5 separate regions of the Homo sapiens genome follow, and regions 1, 2, 3 and 4 are each linked to region 5. The links are contacts of gene promoters, found by promoter capture Hi-C in human tissues and cell types (Jung and others, 2019). All regions are on one chromosome and are shown on one strand. The core of a region is centred on a gene start or on the middle of the fragment in contact, and the rest is flanking DNA. Distances in the headings are between cores, read along the strand shown.

Region 1 (2,700 bases), core at 100-2,599, 1.4 Mb before region 5:
GCTGTTGCGTAGATGTCTTCAGTCTTCCCTCCAGTGCAACTGAAGGTAAACTCGTCTTTGGGGCCCTGGTGGAAGGGCTGTATGTCATTTGGCTGCACAGGACCTGATCTGAACTGCCTGTAACTCATTAAGCACTTGCACAAAACAAAGGGGGAGGCGCCAGTGCCCTCACTGCATGCCTGCATGTCTTTGAGGCCTTCATGCTTGGCTGGGAAGGTGCCGGAGGCAAGGGAGGTGTGATGAATATGTGGGTTTCTTCTAGCTCATAAGCTCATAGGTTTGTTTTTTTTTTTGAGGCAGAGTTATATTCTGTTGTCTCAGGCTGGATTGCAGTGGCGTGATCTCAGCTCACCTGCAACCTCCACCTTGTGGGCTTCTGCCTCAGCCTCCCAAGTAGTTGGGGTTACAGGCGCCCACCACCACTCCAGGCTAATTTTTTTTGTATGTTTAGTAGACACGGGGTTTCACGATGTTGGCCAGGCTGGTCTCCAACTCCTGACCTCATGAGATCTGCCCACCTCGGCCTCTGAAAGTGCTGGGATTATAGGCTGGAGCCATTGCCCAGCCTTCACAGATGGTTTTCAAATGGAAGTTTTGAACTTCTGTATTTTTGGGTCATTCCTAAAAATCAATTCCACTTGGAAGCAAAATTCCATGTAAGTCTCCTAAGGTAGAACGATAGGTAGAGATTGAGAGCTAACATGAGAAGTTTAAATGAACTCTTAAATATATCACGTTTTGGTAGTTCGAAGCTCCAACATGATGATAGCAAGTATTCAAGCTGCTTCCAAGTGGTGTACCTGAGCGAGTTAGAAACGCCACACTTGGAGACGAGTTCAGGAGTCCTTTATTAGCCGGCGACCGAGAGACGGCTACCGCATGAAAGTATCTCGGCCTCGAAGAAGGAGCTAGATTTTCTTTTATACTTTGGTTTGGAGAGGGGAGGGGGATTCTAGCTGCAGCCATCTTAGGGAAGAAAAACAGACAAAAAAGTTAAAGACAAATGGTTACAGGAAAACAGTTCCAGGTGCAGGAGCTTCAAATTCATCACAAAGTGACAGGTGAGGGGGCTCTGGGTGTTATCTACCGGACAAACATGGGGGCTTGATGGTACCATCTCTGAGTAAATTGCTGGGAACTGGACATCGCTTGCCTCAGCACCTTATCAGTTAACTGCACTCTTTGATACGTTGAGAGCTTGCACAAGTTAAAGTCCTTGAGGAAAGGGGGGTGGGTAAGGAGCCCTTGATGTCTTGTAAATGAAGGAGCCAAATGGAGTTGGCCTGGTTTTCTCAGCGAAGGGAGTCTTCATATTAAAAACAAGGTTAGGCATGTAAGGGAGAGTCTATTCGTGTTAATACAAGGTTGGGTATCACAAAAGCAGTCCTGAAAAGCACGCTCCCGGGGTTCCTTCAGCAGATGCTCAGGGGTGCTGCAGTGTGGGAACTGCCGCTACTACTTTCATCCCATTAGATTCAAGTCCCTGATAATGAAATTAGAATGTAGTGTCTGAACTAGGCTGTCACATAGGCTTGTGCCTTTTTTTTTTTTTTTTTTTTGAGACGGAGTCTCGCTCTATCGCCCAGGCTGGAGTGCAGTGGCGGGATCTCGGCTCACTGCAAGCTCCGCCTACCGGGTTCACGCCATTCTCCTTCCTCAGCCTCCCAAGTAGCTGGGACTACAGGCGCCCGCCACTACGCCCGGCTAATTTTTTTTTGTATTTTTAGTAGAGACGGGGTTTCACCGTTTTAGCCGGGATGGTCTCGATCTCCTGACCTCGTGATCCGCCCGCCTCGGCCTCCCAAAGTGCTGGGATTACAGGCGTGAGCCACCGCGCCCGGCCGCCCTTTAAAGCGAAGTGTGGATAAGCTTTCTCTTTTCTGCGATTACACGAGCTTTTCTTGAGTTTGTTGTTGGGGTAGAGCTAGGTAGGGTGGACAGAGTGGCTTAGTATCGGTCATTTCTAACCATCTGCCCACAGGAGCAGTGCATGCAGGAGACATGGAGGGGAGGGCTTTGCAGATCTACCTTGCTTGCCCCTACCAGGACTGGACACTAGCAGAGGGAAGGGTCTGGAATGTGTATTGTTGGTTTTGTCTTTGGCAGGTCTAGAGAACAGCAGTTGTCGGGGGAGGCAGTGTTGAGAGTTGTTGAGCTGTGTTCTAAGCTTGGTTACTGCCCTTGAGATCTTGCGTTAATAGTTTGGTACTGAGGCCCAGTATTGAGAAAGATTGAAGGTCCCTTCTCTGGGTTCTTTAGTTAACTGTGGTACATTTAAGGATAAAGCTTGCCCTGTTAGAGAAGGGAGTAGAACTAGAAACTTGGAGTAAGGTTAAACTAAATCCAGAGCCATACGGCTAGTCTAGGGCAGGGGCGGTGGCTAACGCCTGTGATTTCAACACTTTGGGAGGCTGAGGTGGGTGGATCACCTGAGGTCAGGAGTTCGAGACCAGCCTGGCCAACATGGTGAAACCCTGTCTCTGCTAAAAAATACAAAAATTAGCTGGGCATGGTGGTGCACGCTTATAATACCAGTTACTGAGGCAGAGGTTGCAGTGAGCCAAGATCGTGCCATTGCACTCTAGTCTGGGTAACGAGCGAAATTCCTGTCTCAAAAAAAAGTCTAGAAGCATTATGGTTCTTTGGAATCTTATGCTCCATAGCTTGTTTGCAGTAACTTAACCTCCTGACCTTGTCAGT
Region 2 (2,700 bases), core at 135-2,634, 1.9 Mb before region 5:
GGTCACCCATGGCCAGTGATTTCACCAGCCACGCCCAAGAAATGAAGCCTCCGTATAACCTCCAGGATAGCTGAACACATGGAGGTTCCTGGAGGGCCGCGTGCCCAGGGAGGGGTAGAACCTTCGTGCCCCTTTCCCCATGCCTTGCCCAGGCATCTCTTCATCTGTATTCTTCCCAATACCCTTTATAATAAACCAGCAAATGTAAGTGTGTCCCCGAGTTCTGTGAGCCACTCTCGCAAATTAATTGAACGCAAGGAGGGCGTCATGGGAACCCCAACTTGAAGCCGGTCCCTCAGAAGTTCCTGAGGCCCTGACTTGGGAGTGGCATCAGAAGTGGAGGCAGTCTTGGGGACTGAGCCCCACCCTGTGGGCTCTGACGCTCTCTCCAGGTAGATAGCATTAGAATATAGAGGACACCCAGCTGGTGCCTAATGCAGAATTGGTTGCTTGCTTGCTGATGTGTGGGGAGAAACCCCCAACATTTGGTCACCGAAGCCTTCTGTGTTGCTTACTGTGGCGTGGGAGCAGAGGAAAAACGGTTTGTGTTTTTTCCACTCACAGATGGTTCTCTTGAAGTTTTTTCTGCCCATACATGCTGCACTGTTCTATACTGGGGCTGACCTCAGTTCAAAACTGGGAGACAAGAAAGAAAAAGCAACTGGGAAACTTGCCCTTGAATAGGTCATTCTTCAAGTTTCAGCTCTTCTCTCCTATCCACCTGCTATTGTTAACACTGCAGAGTCCTTAGCTAGTGACTTGTTGATTTTGTCCCTAGACAGCGGCATGGATGGATTGTAGTGGTCTCTTACTTCATCTTGGCCAGCTTCAGAATCCAAAATGTAATATTTAACCTCCCTAATTACGACGAATGTTAATTCTCCCATTTATTTTATTTTATTTTTTATTTTTTTGAGATGGAGTCTTGCTCTGTTGCTCAGGCTGGAGTGCAGTGGTGCAATTTCGGCTCACTGCAACCTCTGCCTCCTGGATTCAAAGGATTCTCCTGCCTCAGCCTCCCGAGTAGCTGGGATTACAGGTGCCCACCACCATGCCCGGGTAATTATTTTTTTGTATTTTTTAGTGGAGACAGGGTTTCACTATGCTGGTCAGGCCGGTCTCAAACTCCTGACCTTGGGTGATCCGCCCACCTCAGCCTCCCAAAGTGCTGGGATTACAGGCGTGAGCCACTGCGCCTGGCCGATTCTCCCATTTTAAGGATTAAAAAGTTGAGGTTTAAAGAGGTATAGTCATCTGCCCAACCTGTATAGCCAATGCTAAGGTTTATTTAAAATTAACTGATGAAACCTGTGTGGGGTGGAGTCAGAAAGCAGGAGAGGGTAAAAGAAAACAGGTGATGGAAGAACAGAGTGGTAGGGGAGGAAGAGGGTGAAATGGGAGAGAAAAGGAAGAGAAGGCCAGGCACAGTGGCTCACACTTGTAACCTGAATGCTTTGGGAGGCTGAGGTGGGAGGATCACTTGAGGCCAGGAGTTCCAGGCCAGCCTGGGCAGCATAGCAAGACCGTGTCTCAACAACAACGAAAAAGCATCCAGGCATGGTGGGGCGTGGCTGTAGCCTTATCTACTCAGAAGGCTGGGTCAGGAGCATGGCTTGAGCCTGGGAGTTTGAGGCTGCAGTGAGCTATGATTGTGCCACTGCCCTCCAGCCTGGGCAGCAGAGCCAGATCCTGTGTAAAAAAAAAAAAAAAAAGGCACTGCGGCTGCAGAATGGTCGGCGGTGGGAGGAAGTGCAAGCCCAGCGGGGAGGGGCCTGTGAAAAAATGGTTAATGTGAAGAAAAGTAAATTCTATGAAGCTGATGTGGTCTTCGACAAGAAGTAGAAAATCATTATAAGCTCTCTTCACCTGAAGATTCCGATCGTTTCTGGAAGTTCTTTGAAGAACTTGATCCTGAAAAGCCAGCTGATCACTTTCTGCAAGCCTCGGACTTCAGTTAGGTGGTCCTTATGATATCCTTGCTGGAAAACATAAAATTAAGAAAAATTCAACAGGCCTGAATGTTAGCCTTCATTGGAGGTTTTACCATGATCCTCCTGAGTTCCAGACCGTCATTATTGGAGATAATAAAACTCAGTACCACATGGGGTATTTCAGGGATTCTTCTGATGAACTTCCTGCATATGTTGGTATAAATGAAGCAAAGAAAAAGTGTACAATTGTTCCAAATGGAGATAATGTATTTGTGGCAGTCAAATTATTTTTGATGAAAAAACTTAAAGAAGTAACGCATAAAAAGAAAACTAGGCCGGGTGCAGTGGCTCACGCCTGTAATCCCAGCACTTTGGGAGGCCGAGGCGGGTGGATCACCTGAGGTAGGGAGTTTGAGACCAGCCTGACCAACATGGAGAAACCCCATCTCTACTAAAAATACAAAATTAGCCGGGCGTGGTGGCGCATGCCTGTAATCCCAGCTACTCGGGAGGCTGAGGCAGGAGAATCGCTTGAACCCGGGAGGTGGAAGTTGCAGTGAGCCAAGATCGTGCCATTGCACTCCAGCCTGGGCAACAACAGCAAAACTCTGCCTCAAAAAAAAAAAAAAAAAAACTAATCTCTTGAAAAACATAGATGAAAAACTCGCAGAAGCAGCCAGAGAAATGGGGTCCTCACTGGAACAGACAACCACGAAGATGAAACCGATAAGAAAGTTGTGACGAAGGCCTTTCATGGTGCAGGCTTGGC
Region 3 (2,700 bases), core at 173-2,672, 1.2 Mb before region 5:
GAGCTTGCAGTGAGCCGAGATTGTGCCACTGCACTCCAGCCTGGGCGACGGAGCGAGACTCCGACTCAAAGGAAAAAAAAAGACAATTAGTTGCCAACTTTCAACATTTCAGAAATTTTATATAAAAATCTGGGTTTCTGGCTTTCTTGGAAATTACAAGATCTGGCCGCTCTGGGTCCGAATGTCCACTTGGCCACGGCTGGCCGGAGGGAGCAGCGGCTGCGCACAAATTCACACCTGTGTCCTCCGCTCTGCCCGGGCCCCACCCAGCCGCTCCTCCCATCTCTCTGCCTCTTGGTCCCCGAAGGCACCTGTGGGTTTGAACATGCTGAAGACCCTGAAGTCCTTGAAGACAAACAAGTATTTTGTTCTGTTGTCTGTGTCCCTGGAAGATCCTTTCCTGGAGTTCACAGGGCCTGGGGCAAGGGTGCAATCAGAAGCCCGGGTCTCCAAAGTGAACATCAGTCGCTCCTCCCTTGTGGTCTGCAGGACCCGAGGGCTCCCACGACTTATTCAGAGGTCTGTGAAGTAAAAGTATTTTCATGTGACTGTTAAGACATTATTTGCCCTTTTCATCATGTTGACATTTAGTGTAAAAGGTACAAAATGACCGTGGGTAAAACTAATTCAGATCAAGGCAGTGGATCCCCGATGTGCCAGCTCTGTGTTCCTTACTGCTCTACACTCCCAGAGCCACAAAAAAAATGACTTTACTTAAGAACGTGCTGGGTTTTTTTGTTTTCTTGTGTTGTTAAGACGGGATCTCACTATGTTTTCCATGCTGGAGTGTAGTGATGGGATCCTGGCTCGTTGCAGCCTCCACGTCCTGTGCCCCAGCGATCTTCCTGCCAGAGCCTCCCAAGTAGCTGAGACCACAGGCATGTGCCACTATGCCTGTTTATTACTTTTTTTGGAGAGACAGGGTCTCCCTTTGCTGCCCAGGCTGGCCTGGAACTCCTGGGCTCAAGTGATCCTCTTACTTGAACATCTCAAAGTTCTGCCATTAGAGGTGTGAGCCACTGTGTCCAGCAAGAATGTCCCTGATAGCAAAGTAAAATTTATTAGTTTTTAAAAATCTTGACCTCTGGGCACGTGTCTTTTTAGTGTTTTGTGTCATGAAGTGGGAAGTAGGAAACATTTCTGCTACGTTCTCAACTACGTTTGTCTCAAAGAAAAGCACGTGTGCGATTGTTTGAGTTGCAAGCTGAACTAGCCCCTTTTCTCAGGGAATACAATTTCTACCTGGAGGGTTGGTCAACGGTCATACGATGGTTATTCAGACTTGGATATTTGGAGGACATTCTATTGAAAACCAGCAAAGTAAGCATATCTCTTCAAGGAAAATAACTGACAGCACGGAACAGTTATTTTTAAACAACTCCTAAAGATAAAATTTGAGCTCATTCCTCAAGATGAAATTTGGGCTTTCAAGCAAAAATTAGAATTTTGGCAAACCTGTGTCTGCCACTGTAAGCTTGCTGGTTTGTCGGTACCTAAAGACTTTTCTGATGAGATTAATGATGATGTTAATAAATGTGGTTTTTGATATTGTGCAAAGACATGTGTCAACATTTGGAGGATCTACATAACTCAGTGAACCAAAATTTTCCAAATGACCAATGCATGATATTTCCGCCAGGAAAAAACAATCATCCTCTGTGGATCTCTCACACTCCTACAGGTCTTGCTGGGTGTGCCAAGAATGCAAAGCTTGAGCACTCTTTTTATCCAAACTATTTCTTTCTTTTTTTTTTTTGAGACAGAGTCTCACTCTGTCCCCCATGCTGGAATGCAATGGCATGATCTCGGCTCACTGCAACTTCCGCCTCCTGGGTTCATGCAGTTCTCCTGCTTCAATCTCCAGAGTAGCTGGGACTTCGGGCACCTGCCACCACGCTCAGCTAATTTATTTATTTGTTTATTTATTTGAGACAGTCTCACTTTGTCTCTGAGGCTGGAGTGCAGTGGCATGATCTCAGCTCACTGCCACCTCTGCCTCCCTGGTTCAAGTGATTCTTCTGTCTCAGCCTCTCAAGTAGCTGGGATTACAGGCGCACACCAGCAAGCCCGGCTAATTTTTGTATTTTTACTAGATATGGGGTTTCACCATGTTGGCCAGGCTGGTCTTGAACTCCTGACCTCAAGTGATCCGCCCACCTCCCAAAGTGCTGGGATTAAAGGCATGAGCCACTGTGCCTGGTCCATCCAAAGTATTTCTAAGATTTATGCTTATAGTGAGCAGCCTTGAGGAATGAGATACTGTCTCCCTCTGGGACAAACAGCAGGCTTACTTACTGCATGCTACAAAACAGACGAGTCCCCAAGCTCAGGGTTCCTCAGCTACAGCACAAACCAACTGTGTGTGTAGCATCTATCTCAGCTCCTCTGCATCACCTCTGCAGGACTTGGGGGACAGAGGGAACAAGTGCAAAACAGGCTGGTGCCCGCTCTGCTTGCTGTGTGAGCAGCAATAATAAAGTCCTTTGTCTCTGACACAGGAATCTCATCTCTTTTGCCAGCATCCACGCAACAGTAACAAGTTAATGGATTAGTTTGTAGTAGAGTAAGATGAAATCCCAGTCCTGATGGTTCCATGCCCATGCAAACATGCATGGGCAAAAGATCCATTCAAAGTCCAAGAAAAATGAATGAGTTTTGATGGAGCAGAGAACAAAAGTTTATCACTCTGGATTCAATTTC
Region 4 (2,700 bases), core at 186-2,685, 1.3 Mb before region 5:
GTGCAGTATTATGAACAGGCATGACGTTGTGCAGCAGATAACACGTTCATCAATGGGCTGAAACTTTCAACCCATTGAACAGCAACTCCCCACTTCCTCCTCCCCTCAGCCCCTGGAAACTACCATTGTACTCTCTGCTTCTGTGAGTTTGACTATTTTATTTTAATTAATTCATTAATTTTTTTAGACAGAGTCTCGTTTCGTCACCCAGGCTGGACATGATCTCGGCTCACTGCAACCTCCACCTCCCAGGTTTAAGTGATTCTCCTGCCTCAGCCTCCTGAGTAGCTGGGATTACAGGTGCCTGCCGCCATGCCCAGCTAATTTTTACAATATTTTTAGTAGAGACGGGGTTTCACCATGTGGCCAGGCTGGTTTCGAACTTCTGACATCAAGTAATCTGCCCACCTCGGCCTCCCAAAGTGATGGGATTACAGGCATGAGCCACCACACCCAGCTGGTTTCCTTTTTTTCTTTTTTCTTTTTCTTTTTTGAGAGGGAGTCTCACTCTGTCCCCCAGGTTGGAGTGTAGTGGAATGATCTCAGCTCACTGCAACCTCCGCCTCCCAGGTTCAAGTGATTCTCCTGCCTTGCCTCCTGAATAGCTGAGATTACAGGCATGCACCACCACGCCCAGCTAATTTTTGTATTTTTCGTAGCGAGAGAGTGGGTTTCACTATGTTGGCCAGGCTGATGTCAAACTTCTGACCTTGAGTGATCCACCTGCCTCTTCCTCCCAAAGTGCTGGGATTAGAGGCCTGAGCCACCGCGCCCAGCCGGCGGTTTCTTTCTAGGTAGACGGTGATATCATCTTCGAATTATGACAATTTTCTCTCATCTTCCAATCCTTACATCTTTTCTTTCTTTTTCTTTCCTTAGGGCATTGACCAGGAGAATGCAGTTCTGTGTTAAACCACAGGGGATTACTGAGTATTTTTGTGTTAATTAATCCTGACTTAAAGGATTAATTAATTAAGGATCTTTGCAATTTTCTTCCTCAAGTAAAATTTTGATGTAAGCTTTTGGTATATGAAATTTACTAGTTGAGAAAGTTTCTTCCAGTCTTAATTAGTTAAGAGGGAAAAAATCATAAGTAGGCTTTAAATCTTATCAAATTTCTTTCTGAATAGACTGAGATAATTATATGTTTTTTTTCTTTTTACTGTGGTAGCTCATGTTAATAGATTTTTTGATGTTGAAAAATTCTTCCCAGGACTCCGGGAGTCTGAAGCAGGAGGATCGCTTGAGCTCAGGAGTTTGAGACCAGCCTGGGCAACATAGTGAGACCTCATCCCTATTTAAAAAAAAAAAAAAATATATATATATATATATGTGTGTATATATACATATACACACACATGTATACCTATATAGACACACATATATACATATATATACACACATACTATAAAAAAGAAAAATTCTTATATTCCTAAGCTAAGTTTTACTTGATTTTATATGCAGTTGGCCCCTCGTATCCTGGGGTTTTACATCTGTGGTTTCAATCAACCGTGGATCAAAAGTATTTGAAAAACAAAAGCAATAAAAAAAAAACAAGAAAAAATAATATAAATAAAAAAATCAATACAACAACTTTTTTTTTGAGACAGTCTTGCTTTGTTGCCTAGGCTTGAGTGCAGTGGTACCATCACAGCTCACTGCAGCCACAACTTCCTGAGCTCAAGTGAGCCTCCCACTTCAGCCTCCTGAGTAGCTGGGACCACAGGCTGGTCTCGAACTCCTGGGCTCAAGTAATCCTCCTGCCTCAGCCTCCCAAAGTGTTGGGATTACAGGAGTGAGCCACCATGCTTGGCCCCAACAGCTATTTACATAGCATTTACATTGTATTAACTAGTAGTGTAAATAATTTAGAGGTGATTGGGCCGGGCATGGTGGTTCACGCCTGTAACCCCAGCACTTCGGGAGGCCGAGACGGGCAGATCACGAGGTCAGGAGATCGAGACCATCCTGGCTAACACAGTGAAACCCCGTCTCCACTAAAAATACAAAAAATTAGCTGGGTGTGGTTACAGGCGCCTGTAGTCCCAGCTACTCGGGAGGCTGAGGCAGGAGAATGGCGTGAAGCCGGGAGGCAGAGCTTGCAGTGAGCCGAGATCACACCACTGCACTCCAGCCTGGGCGACAGAGCAAGACTCCATCTCAAAAATAAAATAAAATAAAATAAAATTTAGAGGTGATTTAAATTATACCTCTAAATAATTAACCTGGGACAGAGGATGTGCATAGGTTATAGGTTATACGCAAATACAGATGCTCCTTGACTTATGATGGGGTTACAACCAAATACATCCATCGTATAGATTGACCATATGGCGAGTTGAATTTACAATGGGTTTATCCAGATGTAACCCTATTGTAAGATGAGAAGCGTTCTGAATGCCCATTGCTTTTGCACCATTGGCAAGTCAAATCCCAATTGAAGCCATCATAAATTGGGGACTGACAGTACAATGCTACTTTATATAAGGGACTTGAGCATTGTGGATTTTGGGGGGAGGGTCCTGGAACGAATCCCCTGTGGATACAGAGGGACTGCTGTATATATACATCTACAGGGCAAGATAGTTTATTTTTAAAAATTATACCATGTCGATTGTGATGACTGGCATATAGATTATGATGGTTTTTCTCTGATGTTGTATACTGAAATGTTTTCATAGGACCAAGAATGTTAGAAAA
Region 5 (2,707 bases), core at 186-2,685:
CAAATACACACACACACACACGGTCTGTGAGGTCTTGATCCTCAGAAACGAAGTACAGGCTGGGTATGGTGGCGTGCACCTGTAGTAGCAGGTACTTGAGAGGCTGAGATGGGAGGATCACATGATCCCAGGGAGGTAGAGACTGCAATGCTGCACTCCAGCCTGAACAACAGAATAAGACCCTTTCTTTAAAAAAAAAAAAAAATACAGGCCACAAGCAGTTAACCTCGCAGTTAATTTGGGAAGAATTTTTTCCAAAAATCATGTAAAATATTCAATTCAGCTTTACAGTTAAAAATAAGAAATTCCATTCTTTTAGGGAAGATGAAAAAGTCCTGTTGCATGGATGGTGGTGATGGCTGCACGACGATGTGAATGTACTTTTGCCACTGAATTGTATCCTTAAAAATGGTTAAAATGGTAAAATTTTGTTATGTATATTTTACACAATAAAGAAAAAAGAAACTCCAAATGTTCTTTAATAAATGCCTTAAGCGGCCGGGTGCGGTGGCTCACCCGGCCTGTAATCCCAGCACTCTGGGAGGCCGAGGCAGGCAGATCATCTGAGGTCAAGAGTTCAATAAATGCCTTATGCATCTTACAACTGTATTGGGAAGAGAAGAAGAAATCAGCAATGAGGGAGTGAAGCAGAGGCCTGGGAATCATGATGTGGACAGAAAGAAGGGACAATCAGGAGCCTCCCCTGCACCTGCTGCAGTCCCAGGCCCGTGTTCCAGGGTTCTTCAAGGCAGAAAGCCCCAGTGCCTCACCCCAGGAGGGGGCTTTTCTCTCATATCCCAGCCCCTTGGGAGGCTTTTTCTTCTCACTCCCTGGGCTGGGAGTCAAGAAGACCTCAGTAGGAGTCCAGCCTCTGCAGCCTTGCTGCGTGTCTGACAACAAAACCCTTTCCCTTTCTGGGCTTCAGGGTCACCGACATGTACCACAAGGAGGATTCCCAACCTCTCTTCTTGCCCAAACGCTGCATGATTCTCTCAGCGACGATACAGCTCGTCCGGTTCACCCTGCCTAGATTCTAGCAGGAACTATGGTGCCCTGAAGGTCAAGCCCATGGTGATCTCCTTGGTCAGCCCCAGAAGGGACCCTGGGCTCTCCTTCTGCTCTTCCTGCTGCCCCTTCATGGGGCTGGGAAAACCTAGGACCTGCTTCTCCCACCCTGAGGCCCCTACTGTGTACCAGGCCCGGGTAAGGTACCAGTCACATACTCGCACTTAGGCCTCACAGTTCATCCCATTTTATGCACAAGGCGACTCAAAGACTGAGTCTGGCCCAGAGAAGGCCTGCAGGAGCTCCGAGCCCCGCCTGGGCGCCGGGAGCAGGGGCGGGGTCGTCCGGGACCCTTTCCCGGAAGGGAGGCCGCAGGGGCCTGCGGGGCGGGGCCTGCGGGGCGAGGCCCGGGGCGCGTCCCGGAACCAGAGACGGGGCAGCGCTCGAGTTCCTGCGCGGGACTGCCAAGGCACGACCACGGGCCGGAAGGCTGCCAGGCCCAGTGGGCAAGCGAAGAAATGAACCACCGCAACGCGGGCGCTTCGGGGCGGGGCCGAGTGCGAACCTGAGCCCCAAATCCCGACCCAGGCAGGGGCGGGGCCCGGAGCGGGGCCTTGGAGGCCCAGCCCGCGCGGCGACGTCTCCGCGTGGCGTCACGGCACCGACTGACGGCCACCCACCATGGCCGCAGACCAGCGCCCGAAGGCCGACACGCTGGCCCTGAGGCAACGGCTCATCAGGTACCCGGGCGGGGGGCGGGCGGCGGGGGGCGCGGGGCTGCGCGGAGAGGCACGCGCACGCACGACGCACGCACGCACGCACTACGCACGCGCCTCCGGCTAGGAAGCCGCTGCTACCCATCCCGTCCGGCCGCTGCCCCGGCCCCGCTGGAGCTTCTAGGGCCCGAGGCGGGCGGCGCCGTTGGGCAGTCCCGGCGGGTGGTCTCCGGGGCCGCCTCCCCGACAGCGCCGTCTCCAGGCCGCCCAGTTCAGGAGACGGCCCCGCCCTCACCGCTGTTCGGCTGTGTCAGCCTCGCTTGGCAGCCTTTACTCCGGAGAAGACCTTCACCCTGGCGCCTGAGAGGACCTCACCCAGGGTGGCCCGTCAGCAGCACCTGGGCCTGGCTCGAGAGTGACCTGGGAGGGGGCTGAAAGGGCAGACAAGGGAGAGTCGGGGGAGTCGGTTCACAGGCAGCACACTTGACCTGTGAGGGGGCCCTCGGTGGGACGGTGGGTGAGGTCGCCTCCCACTGGAGCTTAGGGCTGGCACCCAGCGAGGGGCAGCAGGGCCACGTGGCTGGCAAGGAGCTGTTTAGGGCTGAGAGCCAGGCACCTAATGTTGGTGCCCTGGCCCATCCCATCGAAGACACGCGGCCTTATGGAGTCCCCATGGGACGGGGCAGCCACCTTTTCTCAGGATCCGGGAGACTGACGCGGACACATGCAGAAATGAGCAAGGAGGCCACAGAGGCTGAAAATGCTTTCAGAAACAATCCGAAGTTTCAGCGACTTGTTACCCCATCTGCTTCCTGCTTTGCAACCACCTGTGGAGTGGAGAGACAAGGCAGGGAAGCAGCACCTTGCCCTTCCAGCTCTCATTTCCCCCCCGCCACCAGAAACTGGGAAGGGGTGGGCGGGGGTCTGCGATGAGTAGACTTCACCCTTTCGGTCTTCAGACATGGCTGTCCACTCCTTGCCTGTCC

What was found. Contacts are between HindIII fragments. The study calls those that stand out against the background at their distance.
Region 1: a fragment that was not itself captured here is called in contact with the fragment with the promoter of PHYKPL in region 5 in 1 of the 25 tissues and cell types used here (lymphoblastoid cells).
Region 2: a contact is called between a fragment that was not itself captured here and the fragment with the promoter of PHYKPL in region 5, in 1 of the 25 tissues and cell types used here (lymphoblastoid cells).
Region 3: a contact is called between a fragment that was not itself captured here and the fragment with the promoter of PHYKPL in region 5, in 2 of the 25 tissues and cell types used here (IMR-90 fibroblasts and lymphoblastoid cells).
Region 4: a contact is called between a fragment that was not itself captured here and the fragment with the promoter of PHYKPL in region 5, in 2 of the 25 tissues and cell types used here (mesendoderm cells and pancreas).

What each region holds. Positions count from the first base shown.
Region 1 is chr5:179,611,382-179,614,081 of GRCh38, reverse strand. All of the region lies in intron 4 of LOC128966623 (a long non-coding RNA gene), which reads right to left. Among named protein-coding and RNA genes, the nearest start is that of RUFY1-AS1, 9.0 kb to the right of the region's middle. RefSeq lists an enhancer at 195-254. The HindIII fragment of the contact is 3,640 bases long and covers 1-2,700 here.
Region 2 is chr5:180,086,068-180,088,767 of GRCh38, reverse strand. It overlaps the pseudogene LOC646058. Among named protein-coding and RNA genes, the nearest start is that of RNF130, 16 kb to the right of the region's middle. The HindIII fragment of the contact is 7,253 bases long and covers 1-2,700 here.
Region 3 is chr5:179,444,765-179,447,464 of GRCh38, reverse strand. No RefSeq gene overlaps it. Among named protein-coding and RNA genes, the nearest start is that of ADAMTS2, 100 kb to the right of the region's middle. The HindIII fragment of the contact is 3,174 bases long and covers 1-2,700 here.
Region 4 is chr5:179,531,458-179,534,157 of GRCh38, reverse strand. The region is part of intron 4 of LOC128966623 (a long non-coding RNA gene); the gene reads right to left. Among named protein-coding and RNA genes, the nearest start is that of RUFY1, 18 kb to the left of the region's middle. The HindIII fragment of the contact is 7,886 bases long and covers 1-2,700 here.
Region 5 is chr5:178,231,530-178,234,236 of GRCh38, reverse strand. It overlaps PHYKPL (5-phosphohydroxy-L-lysine phospho-lyase), which reads left to right and starts at 1,435. Exons shown (of 13, transcript NM_153373.4): 1 at 1,435-1,745. The coding sequence starts at 1,687. It overlaps LOC112267937 (a long non-coding RNA gene), which reads right to left and starts at 199. Exons shown (of 3, transcript XR_002956238.2): 1 at 1-199. RefSeq lists silencers at 1,201-1,610, 1,691-2,010 and an enhancer at 1,273-1,811. The HindIII fragment of the contact is 15,074 bases long and covers 1-2,707 here.